2 separate regions of the Homo sapiens genome follow, and region 1 is linked to region 2. Evidence: promoter capture Hi-C in human tissues and cell types (Jung and others, 2019). All regions are on one chromosome and are shown on one strand. The core of a region is centred on a gene start or on the middle of the fragment in contact, and the rest is flanking DNA. Distances in the headings are between cores, read along the strand shown. Region 1 overlaps SEPTIN4 (septin 4). Region 2 holds the start of PPM1E (protein phosphatase, Mg2+/Mn2+ dependent 1E).

Evidence for each region. The method cuts DNA at HindIII sites, captures the fragments that hold promoters and counts their contacts. A contact is called where the count stands out against the background at its distance.
Region 1: a contact is called between a fragment that was not itself captured here and the fragment with the promoter of PPM1E in region 2, in 1 of the 25 tissues and cell types used here (aorta).

Annotation. Positions count from the first base shown.
Region 1 is chr17:58,529,293-58,535,707 of GRCh38, reverse strand. All of the region lies in intron 3 of SEPTIN4 (septin 4), which reads left to right. All of the region lies in intron 2 of SEPTIN4-AS1 (SEPTIN4 antisense RNA 1), which reads right to left. Among named protein-coding and RNA genes, the nearest start is that of SEPTIN4, 12 kb to the left of the region's middle. RefSeq lists a silencer at 3,447-3,896 and enhancers at 3,994-4,494, 6,268-6,415. The HindIII fragment of the contact is 6,319 bases long and covers 1,008-6,415 here.
Region 2 is chr17:58,750,656-58,758,012 of GRCh38, reverse strand. It overlaps PPM1E (protein phosphatase, Mg2+/Mn2+ dependent 1E), which reads right to left and starts at 2,159. Exons shown (of 7, transcript NM_014906.5): 1 at 1,552-2,159. The coding sequence starts at 2,015. LOC105371843 (a long non-coding RNA gene) reads left to right here and starts at 1,903. Exons shown (of 3, transcript XR_007065866.1): 1 at 1,903-1,982. RefSeq lists silencers at 2,003-2,151, 2,151-2,340. The HindIII fragment of the contact is 13,854 bases long and covers 1-4,880 here.

The DNA of each region.
Region 1 (6,415 bases), core at 2,918-5,417, 220 kb after region 2:
GAGAAAAGTATACAGATGGGTCACTTGAAAGGGTGTGGACATCAAAGGACAAAGCAAAGTCCAATGAAATGAGTCAGCAAAGCTTCCAGCATGGAGGCATATGGAGGGTAAAAGCCAGGGAAAGACAGATTTTGGCTCAGTATAGTGAAGACTTTGGTAACTTGGCAGCCCAAAGGTTGAAGGGCAGTTGTTAGAATCAGTGAATTTTTGGCCATCGGAGGTATGTATTCGAGCAGAGGCTGGGAAGGCAGGGGAGCCTTCAGACATCTGGTGAGTAGTCACATTAGGAGGTTTGTAAGTCCTTTCCAACCCTGAGCTCCTATGGCCCTGCCCTGTTCACGGAGGGTGTTGGAAGGACTGTCTGCCCTATCAGAGTGGCTGGCTTCTAGCACCCTGCCAGCTCTGGAACTGCCCCTCTTTGCAGCCATTCAGCAGGTGCCAGGAAACACAGTGTTCCCCAGCCTTGCCACCCACACCTTATGCCTGCCCCCAGGATCATGGGACACATGGCAGCAGCTGGGGGAAGATTTGGGCTTAATGTATTTTGGTTTATTGCCTTTGTCCACCACAGACCTTGTTGGACAGACTTGCTGAGGTTTCCTTGAAAGACACAACCCAGTGATAGCCTTTGGTCCAAGGACTCTCTGACTGTATCGTCAGTGACTCATCTATCTCACTGGGGAAGGGATGTACAATTAGTTCTTGCGCCACTTTAGGGAAACTTAGCTACTGAAAGGCAGAAGTGGCCATTGCTAGTCATGCAGATCTGAAATCCTGATTTCCTGTGGTAATTGCTCTTTATTATCGGCTTTGAACCTGGGCCCTGGGATGGCCCACATGCAGCCTCCTTGCTTAGGTCCTGTGCCATACAACCTGCACCTATGGGTGGGCAGGAAAGACCTAGTGGAGGGGGCCAGGACATATCATGTTGGCCTGACCTAAGCAACGGAGCCCAAGACAGCAGGCTAGAGCTATGGTGGCTGAGCTGAGTTTCCCAGCTAGACACTCCCCTAGACACTTGGCTCAGATACCATGCCCTAGCAGTGCCTGGGGAGTTGTACTGTAGTCAAGGCCATCAATGCCTGGTGGGATGTTGAATTTTGAGGGAGAACTAGCGCTCCAAGAGTTAAGCCATGCTGAAGCAGAGTTGGCCAGGCCACCTGCTGGCTGGAGATGAGGAAGAGCACTCGGTAAATCCCCAGTGACTGACGCAAGGGCTGCTGTATCTTGGCCCTGCAGGTATTAGACCCTGCCTCCATCACACAGAATGTAAGAGCTAGACTTGGGAGAAGTCCAGTCTTCTCTTTCAGTGGGGGAAACAGAGGCCCAGAGAGGGCAAGGGACTTTCAGGCAGTGAGATAATAGCCAAGTTGGCATGGGACTTGTGCCCAGGCCAAGTTCTCTCAGAGCTCTCCGAATGCTGCAGTAGGTTAGCATGCAGGGCTTGTGCAGGTGGGATGGCTCAAAGTCAGTCTTCAGCTTTTATTTCACCCAGCATGCCTCATGTTAGGCCTGTGGTACAGTGATTAGAAAGAGATTAGACCCCAATATTCTTGGCTTAGAGCTAAGTTCCGTGGTCCCAGGACTTGCTTGGGGCCTCACTTTCCTCAAGGCAAGCTGGTACCAACCTGCTGCCTGGGCAGCAGGTGCCAGAGAAGAGCTGGGATTCCAGCCACAGCTGAGGATGAGCTGGTTGGGCTGCCTTTTGAAATGTGTCTGTGTCCACACTTGGAATTCAGCTGAGGCCACGGGGAGGGGCATGTTATAATAGAGGAAAACAAGGGTTTCTGCTGGGGCCTGTCTTCCCTGATGTAGGCTTTCTCCTTACCCTAGGCCACAGGACTCTGGAAGCACGCAAGAGGTATTCTTAGAGTGCATACATGAGTATTGGAGGCCCAGGGCTTTGAACAGTGGGGCTTTGTATAGTCCAAGCTTGACATTTGGGGCTGATGGTAGCAGCAGCTGCTGCTTCTGCAGACTTCCAACTGCCATTGGTTTCTCTCTTTATGTCTTTGTTTTCCTGAGTACAGCTTCCGATCCCCTGATCTACCCCAGGTCTTTTCCGGGAGCCTCTCTGTACCTTTAGAGGTTCCCTTTCAGGGAACCCAAGCTGCTGCCCCCATCCTACACGTCCTCCCCCTTCACTCAGATCCTGGGCCCTCTCCTGAATCACTGCATGTCCAACCTTTCTCCAGCACCTCCTGCTGCTGCCTTGTTCTCTTATCTTCCTCCAAGGCCTATAGTAGCATACAGCATATCCTCCTTCCCCCACTGCATCCACTTTTAGAAGGCCAGAGCTGTAAGGAAGCTTAGAAATCATCTAGTTTAATCCCCTCATTTTCAGGTATGGAAATTGAGACCCTGACAGGTGAAGTAAGTTGCTCAAGGCCACCCAGCTAGGAAGGTTTCTCCTCAACCGGCTGGCTCATGAACACCCTGCCATCTTCCAGTCCACCAGTGCCAAACAGCCAATAACATCTCCAGTAGCAGCCCCATTGTTTTTCTCAGCCTGATCTTACCTGCTGCCCCAGGCCCTCTTCCCTCCCCTGGCTGAGTTCTGACTGGTCCCAACCAGTGCTACTGGTTCACAGGTCAGACTGAAATACAGCAGGCAGGCCTCTGGCACTTCTACCAACAGAGAGGGCCGTGCCTGTGGGTCTCAGTTTTGTCCAGAGTGTATTCAGGCAGAAGCCAGTCAGCCTGCCATTGAGAGAGGGGTCTTGCGGGTCAGGAAGGGACATGCTTCTGGAAACTTCCACAGGAGCCTGACCAGCTCAGACCCTACTTAGCTCAGGGAATCCCTCACCAACACCCCACTCACCAAGCATCTGCCTTCCCCTAGCTGCTGCTCTGACCTTTCTGAGCCTCTAATGCCTCTAAAGCTTCTGGGGCATCTGTCCCCTCGGCATCTCACCTGCTTGTCAGAGGAAGAGTGGCCCAGCTGGGCCTGGGTCACGCCTGGGTTGGCCTCTCCTGAGGCCCTCCCCACTGTCCTCAGCCACAGGCAAGGCTACACCGCCCTGTTAAAGCCACTCAGCCTCTCCCTTCTATCCTTCCAGCAGATGATCCCTGGATAATTTGTGCAGCAAATCCTCTTTAATCTGTAATCTGGGGTACTGCATGAAGGGAACCTGCCTCTAACCTGCCCCTTCACAGCTCGGGTGGAGGTGGAGAATATCTGACATTCCCCTTTAGGAGGTGTAGTGATCAGTAACTTGGGCATCAGCCGGATTCACTTTGTGAAAACCTTGTTGAATCCCTGCGGTAACTAATGGTTTCTCTCCAACTCATGCAGCAACTCCCCCTCCCTTCCAAAGGCGTCTCCTTCTGGGGATGTCAGGTGGGCCGTTCCTTTTTCTTTGGGAACTGGCTCAAGCCCCCGCGGTGCTTCTGGAGCTGAGTAAAAAAGAGCCAGGTGTCCAGTGCAGCCCGGGGACGAGGAGCTGAGGCTCCCCGCTCTGTCCTGGGTGACTCTGCATACTCTGCGCATCCGGGGGTCGCGGGCTGCGAGGCCGGCCCCCAGCTGGGCACCCCGACCCACTTCGCGCCGGCACCGCTAGCAGCTGAGGTACAGGCCCCGCCCCGGGGCCGACTCGCTCCGCCCCCGCCGCCGGGCCCCTCCCGCAGCGGTCCGCACTCGGGGAGGCGGGAGGGTGACGGCGGTGCTGCGAGGTCGGCGCGCAGCTCCGCCGCGGGTCGCTCGGGCGCTGTCCAGGCGGAGCCGGCCCCGCCCGGGCTGCAGCCATGGTAAGGCAGGCAGGCAGGCGGGCGGGCGCGGGGCAGGGCTGGGGTGCGCAGGGCCGGTCGCTCCCGGGCGGCTGCAAGGGGACCCGCGGCACCGCAGCCGCGGCTGTGCAGGGTGGGAGGCGCCGTCGCCGGCCCCGGGCACAGGCTGGCACTGCTGCCGGGCGGCGGTGCGTCGCTGCTCCCAAGTTTTTCCCTCTGAGCAGCCACGGAGTGGGCGCCAACCCCTGGGTGATGCCTGCGCTCTAGGACGAAGGGGTGGGTCCGTGCTGAGGGAGGTGCCCGCTGGTGGAGACGCGCTTGTTGGGCTGGGGAAGGCGCATCAGTAATAAGCGGAGGTGAGGGTCCCCATCCTCGCCTGGGTCAGCTTTTACCTGAGTAACCCCTCCTCACCCACCTACCCTGGGCACAGGGGCCAGTACCAACTTCATTTGGAAAACGCAGAGGAGGCCCACAAACACTGCCTGCCTCACCAGGAGGGATGGTAAGACGCTTGGCCCCTCCTTCCCTCAGCCTGACAAGGGGCAGTCCCTGGCCCTTTCCCAAAGGGACCCCAGAGAGGGGGAGGCCCAGCCCACCATCCTGCCCGGTGGGATTAGCTATATCCTTCTGCCCCTGGGACAGGAACCATGGGAAAGCTTCCTCCTGCTGCATCTACCCGCTCCCTCCCCACCAGCCAGGTCCCTCTGCAGTGTGTGGGGGTGGGGGCACCCATCCCTGCCACCTGCCTGTAGTGGGAAGAGAAACAGTAACCCCAGCCAGCCTCCCTGGAGGTGCCCAGGTAGGAAGTTTTTGATGCTTGGCTCTGAAGATGTAATCTCTTCTCCTGACATTGTTGCCAGAGCCTGCCACAAATAACGTAAGGGTGTCAGGACCTCTAGGCCACACACCGTCCTCTCCTCTCAGTCTGGAAGCCCCACAGCCTTTGCCCTCTGCATTGGGGGACACAAACTGTTTACAGCAGGGGGGGATCACTGACCAGCCTGTGGGGCGGGATGTTGGCTGTGGGCAGCCTCCAGAAGGGAGCTCCCTGGGCCCCCTGGGATCAGAAGCTTTCAGGTTTGGTAGGGCCAACCTTTTGGGCTCTTGTCTCTCAAGCTGTGTCCAGGCAGAGGCCCAAGCCTTGGCCAGGAAGTCTTGGTGACCCTGTGACCTTCCCCCAACGGGGGTTCCTGAGAGAGGCCTGTCCTTATTCCTTTCCCCCACTTCTCCCCACATGGTGGATGGATGGACTGATTGTTCTAGGGATGGAAGCCTAGGGAAGCACTGATTGTCCCCAGTGCCAAGCCCAGCAGGGGCTAGAGGGGCTTTTTCTGCCACACACTAACTTCAGTTCAGCTGAGGTCTTGGTGCTTTCGGCTTGTCCGAGGCCACACTGTTCTTCTCTAATTAAAGACACACCCCCCTCCACCCCAACCACCATCACCAAAGTCCCCATCCTCAGGCCCCTGCCCTCAAGCCAGCCAAGTTCTTAGGCTGACTGGTTCAGATCAGACTCCTCTATGAGGGTCTCTTTGTCAAAGGAGGTCAGTGTCCTAGCTGCTTTGGGAATCAGTGGGGGAGACCCCCCCAACCCAGCTATGCCAGGGGGTTTAAATTTACATGTGAAAAGAATGACAGGCCAACATTAATGACCATCCTGTGACTTGGGATGCACCTTCTCTTCTCAGGTTCAAAGCAGCTTAAGGTATCTATCATCTGGGAGTGCTTTCTCTCCCCAGCCTCGCTGGGAGGCAAGGAAGGGCCATTCACAACTGAACATTAAGGTCCTCAAATTAAGACACTATCCAGACTCACAAAAGATGTTTCCACCCAACCAGAAACAGTGGACCCCTGACCCCTAGTTGAGTGCACACTTCCAACCAGGCCCCTTAATTTATCTCCCACCTAAATGGCAGCTCTGAAGCTTCTGGGCTGCCAGCCTCCCATTGCCTTGAACCCGTGCTCCTCAGAGACCAAGTGCTAACAGCTCCCCTGTTGACACTATGGAAGCCATGGAGTGATCTAATTGATACAGGTTGCTATAAGTCAGAGGTCAGGTGTCCTAGGGTAAGGGGAGTCCCTGGAGCAAAGTCTTCTCTGTGGCTGATGCTCCCTGCAGGGAAATTTAGGAGCAGATTTCTGAAACAGTGACGTTCCTCACAGGAAAAAAAAAAAAAAACAAATGAACACTTGGGAAGAAGTGTGGGACCATTCCCACAAAAACCTATATGGGGGAGTATAGGACATCTCACCTACTCCAGCACTGCTTAAAGTTAAGGTGAAAGAGAGACTGGGGGATTGAAATCCTTTGGGAATGGGTATCCTAGGTGGCTGTCCTCATGTGCTGATGGGCCAGGTCACTTGGGGATAGCTCATAGTCCTCATACAGGCCACAGTGTCCTTGGGGGTTAACAGGAGAGGTCAAATGGATCAAAAGCCTGGCTGCAAACAGACATTGGGAGGTTGGTGCTGTGCCCACCAGGGTAGGCAGCAGGCAGGCGTCATGGGACAGCCAATCAGAGGAGGAGGGGACTGCAGAGGAACCAAGTGATCCTGCTGCAGCTGAGCTGTCCTTGGAGGGTGGGAGCCAAGGGAAGGGGAGGAGAAGAGGGGTGGGGAAGGACATTCCACAGGCTTTTTTGGCCCCTGCCAGAGACAGAAGGGGGTCAAAGAGAAAGGGAAAGGAGCA
Region 2 (7,357 bases), core at 910-3,409:
TTATTTTAAGCAGGGAGCTTTATCTTTAAATACTGTAAAAAATTACATCTCAGAAGCCCTTGTCTATGATAGTTCACAAAGACCAGATATACTCTAAAATGTTAATACTGTTTATCTCTGGGTGGTGGTATTACACGCCATTTTATATTTTACGTTTCTCAAAAAGCATCATTACCTTGCTAATTGACGGTAATACTGTAATTGAACAGTATTTTAAAATTAAATTTTAGATAGCTTATATTATGAAATACCAACACAGTCCACTTCTATGGAAGATTTGTTAAATGATTTTCCCCTATTGATAAACTGCTGCTTTAACAGGAGAATGATCTGATCAGGTGTCTATTAGCTTGGATGAAGACAAAACAGGTTTACTTTCCAGGCCCTTCTTTTCTTTAGGCTTTTGAGAAAATCCCAAAAGTGAGTTTGAACTTAATTACAGCGAATCTTGCAGTAGTAAACTTTTTGGGTGGCCAGAGTAACACCTTTCATTACAACTATCAGCTGAATGGCAAAAGACTTCCCAGGTTTACCAATGTTTTCAGAGACTTACTAGTATTCTCCTCTGTCATTATTTCGGAACAATTCCATTGAGAAACGCAATTGTAAACCGTTTCTATTTCAGGCCTATAAAAACCAGAACTGGGATGAAAGGCAAAGCCTTGACCTTTCTATTTTAGACTTTCATCTGTGTAGCTAAGCCATCTGCTTTCTCCCCACCCCATCCCATCTACTTAATGGACTGAAAATACTGCACCTAATTGCAATTTAATCAAAACAGCCTGACTTTTCCACTTTAATGAATTATGGCTCTTTCACCCGAAGGCTTGCTTGCAAAATTTTGCTTACCCTTCCCTCTCAATTCCTTCCCACTTCCCTCAATTATGGAATGTCAAATGTCTAAACTAAGAGACTAGGCTTCCCTGTGTGAAAACATCTAAAAAGCCCTTCACTTTCAACACTGAGCACCTGACGGAAAATCTACTCCATTCTCTCATCTGGATACGGGGCCGGTATAACCATCATTGTTGCAGTTACGCAGGAGGCACCTCGCAGCTCAGTCTAGAAAGGAGTCGCGTCTCTGCCGCCAAACAACAAGGCACTCAGCCCGGGAAAAGACAGACTGGGGTGGGAGGAAACCTCCCGGAGAAAGAAGGGATCTGGGAAGAAGAGGGAGCTCAAGCCTGGGAGGAAGGACCTTTCCAGGCAGGAAAGGGAAAGGTTGCGTGAAGTGGAGCTAGAAGCTGGGGGCCGAGGTGAAAGGGGATGAGGGGCCCGGGCCCGGCGGGAGGGCGCCGGGGCTCAGGAGAGCGGCTTCAAGGCCGGGTAGGAGGCGTGGGGGCCGAGGCGGGCGTGGGGGCCGAGGCGGGCGTGGGCAGCTCTCAGCCGACCGCCCGGGTCCGAGCAGCGGGGGCGCTTTCAGCGGCGGCAGGCGCGGGTGCGGGGGAGAGGAGCAGAAAAGAGAGCAGTTTGAGGGGCCGAGGGAGCCGCGTCCGAGGCCGGCGCGGTGGGGACCGCGGGCCCACCACCAGCCAAGCCCAGCTACTTAACTATTTGTAGAGCTGCTGCAGGCACAGGTCCAGGCTTTCGCCCTCCACCTCCTCGCGGGTGATGCGCTCTGACAGCGGTCGCGGGAGCGGGGGCAAAGGCGGCAGCTGGGGCGGCGGCGGCGGCACGGCCGAGTGCCCCGGGGCTGCCGCCGCCGTCGCCGCGCCCTCCTCCTCCTCCTCACCCTCAACCGCCGCCTCCTCCTCGGGCTCCGGGTCTTGCTCCTGGTCCCCCTCCTCCGTCGCGGCTACCGTGGCCGCCTCCTCCCCGGGTTCCTCTACCGAAGCCTCGGCCGCCTCAGCTTCTACCAGTTCAGGTTCGGGCTCGGGCTCGGACTCGGGTTCGGGTTCGGGTTCGGGTTCGGGTTCCGGCTCCGGCTCGCCGCCGCCGCACGGTCCGCGAAACTCGCCCAGGAATAGCTCCAGGAAGCGCCGGTAAGTTTTCTCCTCAGGGATGCAGCCGGCCATCGCTGCTCATGCCCCAGGGCAGACCGGGAAAGGGGTTGGGGGAAGCCCAGGAAGGGTAAGGGGCTGCTTTTGAGCCTAGGGCTCCGGCAAGGGCGGTTAACGGCCGCACCGGCACGAGCGATCAGCACTAGGTTGCCTGGAGAGGGCTCCCGCAGGCGTGCGCGCCGCCGAGCACCGACGTGCGCGGCCCGGGGGCGGAGCGCGCCGCCCCTCTCGGATCTGGAGGGAAAGTTGGTGGCGGGCGCGCGCAGGGTCCAGCGGCGGCCCACCCTTTATTCCTACGGAGAGCTCAGCCCACGCTGCCTAGAGACTGTCGCCATGGCAACCGGTTCTAATTAAGCATTGCAGGGTCCCTCCCGTCGAGTCCGCGGAGTCTAAAGGACACTCCACTCGCCCGCTCTCCAACTCTGAATGTCTTTATTGGTTGGATACCCTACCCTCACGTGGTTAAGAGTGAGCTAAGACATCTCCAAGTCTAGCTGTTGGTTCCCACTTGGGTTGCTTGGATCCCAATTGGATGTACTTCCATTTCCTTATCTGTTCCTTGCCTTAGCGTATGTTTTGAAAGATACCACACTGTGAACACCTTTTGTTGCAGTCTTTGAATAAGTAGTTTTCAGGCAGAGGGAGCTTCAAATACCTACCAAGTGATAAGTTCCTTTGCATAGGTTCTCTCTCACTTGATTCTGTGAAGAAAGTGGTGTTACTCTCATTTCTTAAAAGGAAACTGAAAATTATGATATTAATGGTAATTTACTTGTTTCAAGGTCTCCAAACTTCCAGCCTTGGCGTTGGAGAACTCAGGTCGTTCAGTCGCCAAAGCTTTCCGAAAGTGCATTTTTCCTTAACTCAACTCTGTCTCCGGAGATTCAATAGTGCAATTGTCTGTATAACACCTTATTTCTATTGGGCTTCATAGTTTACACATTGATTTCACCCTTTTAATTCTTACCACAGTCCCTTGAGGTATAGGACGTTACCGTTATGATTTTTTTTTTTTTGAGACAATCTCGCTCTTGTCACCCAGGCTGGAGTGCAGTGGCGCGATCTCAGCTCACTGCAACCTCCGCCTCTCGGGTTCAAGTGATTCTCCTGCGTCAGCCTCCCAAGTAGCTGGGATTACAGGGGCCTGCCACCACCCCCGGCTAACTTTTGTATTTTTAGTAGAGACGGGGTTTCACCATATTGGCCAGGCTGGTCTCAAACTCCTGACCTCAGGTGATCTGCCTGCCTCAGCCTCCCAAAGTGCTGGGATTACAGGTGTGACCCACCACGCCGGCCAATTATTCCATTTTATAGGTGAGAAAACAGCCTTAAAGACATGGTGACTTTGCTCAAGGTCACATGCAAGGGATGCAACAAGGACTCAATCCAGGTCTTTTCACTGGATTCACCCACTTCAATGGATTTTACCCATTAGTTTTCAGGCAACCAAGACTCCCCTCTTTAGTCTCTGCATAATGCATATTATACTTCATTATATAATATGTATTTTTTCTTTTCTCTTTCTTTTTTTTTTGAGACGGAGTTTTGCTCTTGTTGCCCAGGCTGTAGTGCAATGGCAGGATCTCGGCTCACTGCAACCTCTGCCTCCTGGGTTCAAGCGATTCTCCTGTCTCACCCTCCTGAGTAGCTGGGATTACAGGCATGTGCCACCACGCCCGGCTAATTTTTTTGTCTTTTTAGTAGAGACAGGGTTTCACCATGTTGGTCAGGTTGGTCTCGAACTCCTGATGTCAGATGATCCGCCTACCTTGGCCTCCCAAAGTGCTGGGATTACAGGCGTGAGCCACCGTGCCCGGCCAATAATATGTATTTTTTCTACATTTTGTTTGCTCTTCTTCCCCATCCCCCCAAGTCTCTTTTTTTCTTTCTTGGGTTGGAATTGAAATGACTTTAAGTGATTCTAATTTTCTTACCAAACTACACACAAACCTATTATTTTTAAGCCTTACTGAAGGAGTGGGAGAGAAAGAAGCTGTGTTGTTATACAGCTGTATAGATGATAGCATCATTACTGCAAACTGCCATGTCCATGGCAACATATAATTCAGCAAAAACATAGTGATTCTTTCTCTACTTTGAAAAACATGTTCTCACAAATTATCCACCCCATCCTCTCCATGTATTGTTTCTGGGTTTCAGTTGGATTTAGGGTCTGAAATATCGTTTCCAGTTATTAATGGCAGAAGAGGGAGTCTCTCTGCCAACTGTTTTCATATAATACTGTATTCTAAATCCCTGACCTGATACTGTTATTTTAAGATTAAGTGGGTTGAGCTCACTAATGTACATTATGGCATCATGTAAAACAGAGTTCCTCTCCTAGCTTGAGATTAAATAATACATGATAGAAAGAATATAGTGAATAATTGCCTTGAGTCCTCTATATTTTTTTCCCAAAGGTAAATGGAAAGATCTAATAAATCTGTTTCCAGAAATGCTGAATGTATTTATATGTGTTTTGTTTAAAACATAACCAGCGTAGAGCAACTTCTCTATGAGGTGCCAAGAAAGTCTTTAAACTCCTCATTTGTCTTTGTTTTCAATCCACCTGTTCATTTCCATTTCAGAATGTCTAGAAAAGATTGACAAAACTTTTTAGGCTGCAAACCTAAATGTCCACAATTTTACATTTCAACAATTGTTTAATATCTCAGAATTTGACATAATGACATTTAGTTCAAGAGTACTTAGCTGTCAACTGTAACAATTCATATCTACGCCTTCCTACTTTGTAACATAGTTGCCTCCCTCATTTGTGACATTAATTTATGACTCAGCCCACATTTCAAAGGAAAGTGATATATGTTGGGGAAACAATACTACTAAAAGAAAAAGCCCACACCTCTACATTACTATAAGTGAGAGGCGTGTTTGCTTATATTAATAAAGATATTCCTTCACAAAGATCAATATGGATCCTATTGCATCCATTTGACAAAGTAGCTTTGCCAGAAGGTAGCTGACAGCAAGTGCTGAGATCTCAGAGCAGCTGTGTAGGATGATTTTGCCATTGTCAAGAAGTCTTTAGTAATTATTTTGCATTAGTTTGCTCTCTTTTTCAACTCCTTTCTTATTACACTTTTCTAATCCCCTTGCATACTATCTATTAAAAAATATTGAGGGCTGGGCATGGTGGCTCACGCCTGTAATCCCAGCACTTTGTGAGGCTGTGATAGCTTGAACTCAAGAGTTCAAGACCAGCCTGGGCAACAAAGAAAAACCCTGTCCCTAAAATATATTTTTTAAAAAGGAGGCCAGGCGCGGTGGCTCATGCCTGTAATCCCAGCACTTTGGGAGGCCGAGGCGGGCGGATCACGAGGTCAGGAGATCGAGACCATCCTGGCTAACACGGAGAAACCCCATCTCTACTAAAAATACAAAAAATTAGCCGGGCGTGGTGGCGGGCGCCTGTAGTCCCAGCTACTTGGGAGGCTGAGGCAGGAGAATGGCGTGAACCCGGGAGGCGGAGCTTGCAGTGAGCCAAGATCGCGCCACTGCACTCCAGTCTGGGTGACGGAGCGAGACTCCGTCTCAGAAAAAAAATAAATAAATAAAAAATAAAAAGGAAAAAAAATATTGTTATGAAAAGTTTAACGTATTTTTAAGGTATCAAATTTTTAAAGTTTTTCTCATAAAAATTATTCTCCCTCTAACCCTTTGCTCTTTGGAGGAAATGTACAATGTCCTTTTGTGGACATTCATAGTAATGACATTTATAAGGTTAAAAAGAATTGTTGAGTTTGGCAGTTTCTTACATGACCCAGCAATTCCTCTCCCAGGTATTTTATTCATGAGAAATAAAACATGTCCACCAAACACACATGCACTTGCACACACCCCAAACACAAAAAAACTTGTACATAACTGTTCACATAAGTTTCATTCATAACAGCTCAAACCTGGAAGCAACCCAGATGTCCATCAACAAATGAACAGATAAAGTAGTGTATTCATACAATGGAATACTACTCAGCAATAAAAATAAATGAACTGCTGATAAACACAACATGGATGAATTTCAAAAATATACTGAGCCAAAAAAAAAAATCCAGGCACAAAAGAGTACATAATATATTTCCATTTGTATAAAATTCCCAAACAGGCAAAATTAACCTATATAGTGAGAGAAAGCAGATTCCTGGTGGCCTGGGACTGGGATGGGGTGGGAGATTTGTAGCAAAGGAGTAAGCAGGAACTTTGTGAAGTGATTAAAATGTTCTGTATCTTGACTGATTGGTCATATGGGTGTACTCATTTGCCAAAAATTATTGCCAGGCAGGGTGGCATGTGCTTATAGTCCCAGCTACTCTGGAGGCTGAGGCAAGAGGATCGTTTGAGCCTAGGAGTTCAAGGCTACAGTGTAATATGATTGCACCTGTGAATAGCCACTGCACTCCAGCCTGGGCAACATAGCAGAATCCATCTCAAAAAAAAAATTATCCAAGTCTGCATTTAAAATAAGTATATAAATTGTATATAAATTGTATATAAATTGTATATAAATTACACCTCAATAAAGTTGATTTTTAAAGTTAAAAAGAATTGATTACTGTGTCAGTCCTTGTCCATTTTGCCCTCATACCTATTCTTTCTCCTCCTTTGCCCTGCTCTGTATTGTAGGAGGGCTGACCCTTTCAGGCTGTATTCACTAGGCTACTGTGACAGCTGACTTTCACCTGGGATTTGTCCAGTGGTAGGCACTGACAAGAAATTGGAAGAAGGGAGGAAAGAAGAAAAGCCCTGTTCCCTAGCTCAGTCCTGAGGCCTGATGCATTTCCTTTGTAGCTTTCCTCCCCATGAATATGTTCACTGGGATTCTCTAGCTTTTGCCAGTGACCCTATCCCCTCAGCTCCAGAACAACATCTTCCCCCATTTGTCCTTTAGCCTAGGGATGGTAGAAGCTTTCAGCTTTCTAATCTTTTAGGACTTAGAGAAGTGAATCTTTCCTTTTTGGCTTTTTAGCTCTTCCATAATTTGTGTAACCAATTTCCTGGATTCTCTGTTTTGTTTTTGTTTTTGTTTTTTGAGACGGAGTCTCATTCTGTTGCCAGGCTGGAGTGCAGTGGTGTGATCCCAGCTCACTGCAACCTCTGACTCCCTGGTTCAAGTGATTCTCCTGCCTCAGACTACCAAGTACTGGGATTACAGGCACGTGCCACCAAGCCCAGCTAATTTTCGTATTTTTAGTAGAGATGTGGTTTCACCATGTTGGCTAGGATGGTCTCCATCTCCTAGCCTCATGATCCGCCCACCTCGGCCTCCCAAAATGCTGGGGTTACAGGCATGAGCCACTACACCCCATTCTCTTTTTCCTTAACTAGATCCTGACTGACAT